Linked DNA regions of Homo sapiens: region 2 is linked to region 1. Evidence: promoter capture Hi-C in human tissues and cell types (Jung and others, 2019). All regions are on one chromosome and are shown on one strand. The core of a region is centred on a gene start or on the middle of the fragment in contact, and the rest is flanking DNA. Distances in the headings are between cores, read along the strand shown.

The links. Contacts are between HindIII fragments. The study calls those that stand out against the background at their distance.
Region 2: a fragment that was not itself captured here is called in contact with the fragment with the promoter of EXOC1 in region 1 in 1 of the 25 tissues and cell types used here (small bowel).

The regions. Positions count from the first base shown.
Region 1 is chr4:55,852,227-55,854,926 of GRCh38, reverse strand. It overlaps EXOC1 (exocyst complex component 1), which reads right to left and starts at 1,279. Exons shown (of 19, transcript NM_001024924.2): 1 at 974-1,279. RefSeq lists a silencer at 1,388-1,487. The HindIII fragment of the contact is 5,967 bases long and covers 1-2,700 here.
Region 2 is chr4:55,646,944-55,649,643 of GRCh38, reverse strand. No RefSeq gene overlaps it. Among named protein-coding and RNA genes, the nearest start is that of NMU, 12 kb to the right of the region's middle. The HindIII fragment of the contact is 4,269 bases long and covers 1-2,700 here.

The sequences.
Region 1 (2,700 bases), core at 30-2,529:
GGGCTCATTAAATCATAAGCTTCTCTATCTCAAGAATTCTCTTAAAGAAGGGAGGGATGTTCATCATAGTTTTGTGTTTAGTGGATACTTAAATATCTATTAAGGTAATTAGAACTGAATAGTAAAAACTGGTCAAATGAATAATAGGGACCAACGTTTACCACATACTCCTTCTCTGGCTAAAAGCAACTGAGTGTACAGTAAGAGGCAAAACAAGACAGGATTGGGCATACCTCATAAAGGAGTTAGCCATAATGAAAAGCAGTATGTGACTCTTCATTCATTCAGCAAATACTCATGCTTATTAGGTGGCAGACACTATTCTAGGTTACAGTAGTCAACATGACAGATATGTTTATGAAGACCTGAAGCCGGGTGTTTCTATGGCATTTACATCCTAAGAGTCGAGTGATTAACTCTTCAGTCTTTACGGTACTTTTCTGAAAGTCAGTAAATAAATCCCTAGAGGTCCTCTAAAATTATTCTCCAGGTCTGAGAACCCATATCTGACCACGTTCCAAAGGCAGCCATCCACTGCTTACTCTGTACTGGTTGTTTCCTTCAGCTCAGTTGGACCACCACACTGTGTGACAAATAGCCTGTCAGTGTGAGTGCCCGTGTGCATTGGGCCCTGTATGCTGCTGAGATATATTAATGCATGAAGCATTGCCATCTAGAAGATATAACTGTGCAAGGAAATAGAGAAATACACTTAAGAGATTTGGCGGGGGGTGGGGGGGAGTTGGGGTTGGGGGGCCGGGATGTGAATTTGGACAAAGAGGAAGGCACAGTCACGCTCTCCTCTCCTGGACCACGCCAAAGAGCTTACGATCAGGGTCATTTTGCACAAACAAAATCTGGTTCCGATGGGCGGAACCGTAATGGGGCCCGTGAGGACTGCCCTCCCAGCTCCGCATTCTCCTAGACCCGAGGACAAGGGACTGGAGAATGCTCTGACCAAACTTCGTCTTACCGGGACAAACGGGGAAAGGAAGGTCAGAAGGAGCGGTGCCCGACCCCAGGCGTGGAGACAGCAGCCGGACTGAGGAGCCGCCTTAGACCCTGGTGCCTGTCAGCTCGTCTGTCCGCCGCCGCCGGGACTACCGGGCAGCCGCGGCCGAAGGCTTACCGCAAGGCCGGACTGAGCCTGGCTGTGCCGAGGCGGGTCTTCCAAAACGGAGACCGGATGGGGGCCACTAGGATACGCCCCTCAATAAAGCGTTGAACGGGAAGCGGCCGTTCCCCCAACACTTCCTATATCCGGGCACGTGACAAACTCCGCGCCGGAAGTTGACCGCGTAGAGAAGGAAGAAGCAGCGATGGGAGAAAAAGGGAGCGGCCAATAGACGCGGAGGGGCGGGGCGCCAACCGACGGGCGTGGCCAGGCGGAACAAGGCCTCATTGGAGGGGCGTGTCAGGGAAGGGCAGGGGCGGGGCCTTTGTGGCACAGAAACTGACTTGGGAGTTGGGGATTAAGAGTTATTTATTCAGATATTTGCAGCAATTCATTTAAGAAGAAATTCGATTAAATGTTTTCTTTTTTCATACGTAAAGCTCTATTAACTCTAGATCTTTGCTACTTAAACTTTGGAGAGCTTAAATGAGTTAAATCAGAATCCCTGCGGGTGGGACCCAGACATCAGTACTTTTAATATCTTCCCAGATGATTCTCATATGCAGCTAAGGTCAAGAACCATTGTCCTCATGACCTTGATACTCAAAGTGTGGTCCGTGGATCAGCTGCTTGGGTATCATCTGGGGGCTTTTTAGGAAATGCAGCCTCTCTGGCTCACTTCAGATCTACTGAATCAGAATCTGCATCTTAGCAAGATGATGCTTATGCATATTTAAGTTTGGGATGCATAAATGATGCCAATGTTGCTGGTTGCAGGTAGGTGTTTTATTTATTCAATATTCCTGGCACCTTTTTTTTTTAATGCTAGGCACTTTGATTCCAGGTACAGAGGTGATTCAGGCATGAATCTTAACCTAAAGGAGTTCACAGTGTGGTAGGACTAGACAAGGTGTAGGTACAAATATATATAAAATAGGACACAAAATAAGTGACCAAAGAGAGGTACAGATCAGATAAATGTGCTAGAAATTTAAATGAGCAAACAGTAGTTAGAATACTTTTCACTTTCATCAAATGACTTCCCTTTTAAGAGCAGGATCTGGTTATATCTTTACAAAGACCCTTTCCTGCTTGGCACCGGAATGCTTACTGTGGACACTCTATGACAATTGCATGTGTTTTTTGGTCCTATTATCTTTCTTTTATTTACCTGTATGTTTATAGCCCTCCTCAAAGTTGGGAAATGAATTGCATTTCAGAAGCCTAGATCTCTTTCTTGAACCTCAAGATTTGTGTATATACTGCCCATCGCCTGACATTTCCACTTGGATGTCTTATAGACACCTCAAACTTGTGTGTCCAAAAATTAAATTATCCTCTCTCCTCTTGGATTCCCTGCAAAGTGACACTTATATGCAATAGTTTATTTGGAAATTTGATCCCAGGGAGCAAAATGAGGGAAGAGGAAGAAGACAAAACAAAAAGGGAGATGCAGTATAAGAATGTGTTACTGAGTTGGTCATCACCATATTTGAATGTTTTCTTAGTCCCTTAGGACCTTCTAAGAAGCTTTATGAAATGAGTCTCAGAACTGTCCATTAAAGGAAAGAACGGAGGAAGCATTT
Region 2 (2,700 bases), core at 174-2,673, 210 kb after region 1:
AAAATCCAAAGATAACATAGTATATGATCCTATATAACATTCATAAAATAAAATAACATTCATAAAATAAAACATATAACATTCATAAAACAAAATAATATAACATTCATAAAATAAAAAATAACAAAATTATAGGGATGAAGAACAGATTAGTGGTTGCCGGGGGCTGGGGATAAGAACATGGTGGGTGGGTATGGTTATAAAAGGATAATGTGGCTGGGCACAGTGGGAAGCTCAGGCCTGTAACCCCAGCACTTTGGGATGCTGAGGCAGGAGGATCACTTGAGGTCAGGAGTTTGAGATCAGCCTGACCAACATAGTAAAACCCAGTCTCTACTAAAAATAACAAAAACTAGCTGAGTGTGGTGGTGGACACCTGTAATCCCAGCAACTCCGGAGGCTGAGGCAGGAGAATCGCTTGAACCCAGGCAGCAGGGGGGCTGGGGGCGGAGGTTGCCATGAGCCAAGATCACACCACTGCACTCCAGCCTGGGCAACAGAGCGAGATACCATCTGAAAAAAAAAAAAAAGATAATGTAAGGGAGGCTTGCGGATGGAACTGTTCTGTATCTTGACCGCGGTGGTGGTTACAAGAGTCTGCGTATTTGATAAAATTGCATAGAACTACACACTCACACAAATGAGTACATGTAAATGTGGTGACATCTAAATAAGTTCTATGGGTTGTACCAATGTCAATTTCCTGGTTTTAATATCGTGTTATTCAGGATGTTATCCTTGGGGAAAACTAAGCGAAGGATCCATAGGACCTCATTGTACATTTTTTGATAATTTCCTGTGAACCTATAATTACATCAAAGTTAAAAGTGTTTAAAAATTGGTGAGAGCTTGGGTTGTGTGTTTATGGAAAGGCCCGAATAGTAAGAGGCTATGTAGTAATTAGTATAGTAGCCTCCTTTCTCCCTGAAGAATTGGTGGGTCTAGGTCTTTGAAAGTTTGGTGGAAGAAAATGAATTCTGCTCTTTCTCATGTCTGTTCTTCCTATTTTAGACATTGCCACTCTCATTATGAAATACACACAAAATCGAATAAAACTTTAGAAGTTTTTAAAGCCCTCTCTGCTATGTGATGACTTCTGTTCCTCCTCCATTTATCATCACCAACACACTAAAATTTATTGGGTATGTATTTTGTTTCGGTCACTGTTGCAAATTTCCCAAACCCAACTTAAAAGAAAAACGGAAATTTTTGATTTACCTAACTCCAAACTCCAAAGGATGGACCTGGTTTCAGGCACAGCTGACTGTCAGTATGTTTATCAGTGTCAATCTCTCTTTCTCTCTCTCTTCATCTCTCATTGCTGGCTGGTGTCATTGTAAAACAGCCTCTCTCTATGTAAGCTATATTGTCCTTACACGTCAGATTAACAGAGAATGAGAACGCCTTCACCATAGCCCCTGCACAAATCCAGAGATTGATCCCTGAATTGTGTAAGATTATTATAGAAAGAGGGAAGGCACAGTTTTCCAAAACAGGGGTGCTGTGTAGGCCAAAAAACAAAAAATCATACACTCACATTTTAAAAATAACAAAAACTAAAGCTTTCAGAAGCTAATTATCATCCCAGTGTCTTCCACTGAGCAGGTGGTGTTGCCATGACTCAAAGTCAGATTGTCCAGCTCCACTGCTCAATCTCTCAATCATGAGGTCACACTATCTCCAAGAATCCTTGCTCTCCTGGTTAGATAATCCCAGTTCCTAATAATACCTCTATATTTTTATTTTCCACCATATGCTAATTGACTCTTTATCAATTCCAGGTTCTCGTCTCCCAAATTGACTACAACAAAATAGGAAATAGAACTCAGGAAGATTCTAAGCAACGGTTTATACAGTGAAAGATTGTTCATTATTCCAGTATAGTTTAAGGGTATATCACCATTTATGCATATGTGCTTAAAGTTTGAATAATAGTATAAATAGAAGCTTCATAAATCAGATTATTTATTTCCCTGATTCATTTACATAAATTCTGTAGTGCCCACTATGTGCCAAGTTATCTTGACACCACCAAGAACTTGAGATATTAGAAGAATATAAAAGCAAATATAAAATGAGTGTTTTTAAAAGGATAAAAGGGATTTAAAACCTTACTTGGAGTTCTCACTCTACTAAAAGGAGACAGATAGACAATAAGCAAATGAAGAATTATCTAGATATAGACATATAGTATGGTATTATCAGGAGGCTGTAAGTGCTCAGGGGGAAAAAGCTATGCAAAGGAGAAAGGAAGTGCTGAGAGGAAGGAAGTTTTTGTTAACTATCAGGTGATCAAGGAAGGAAGATGTCATCAATAAGATAACATACTATCTACCTCAAATGCCTTTCCCAGTATAGAATTAACTCCGTATACCTGAAGATCTCTAAGATAGAGTAATAATGATGTGGTGGGATAGAATAGGAGTTAGAAGCAATTCTTTGATATTTTTAAATTTTAACTTTAATTTTTCTATTTTTGTAGAGACAGGGTCTCCCTATGTTGCCCAGGCTGGTCTGGAACTCCTGGGCTCAAGCAATCCTCCCACCTCGGCCTCCCAAAATGTTGGCATTACAAGGGTGAGCCACCATGTTAAAAAGGGAATAAAAGTATAGGAGGAGAGAAGGATGAAAGCAAAAAAGTTCAAGTTGGTTTTATTTGATCAACAATTGCCACCAATCAATTGTTGGCAATTGAACCAA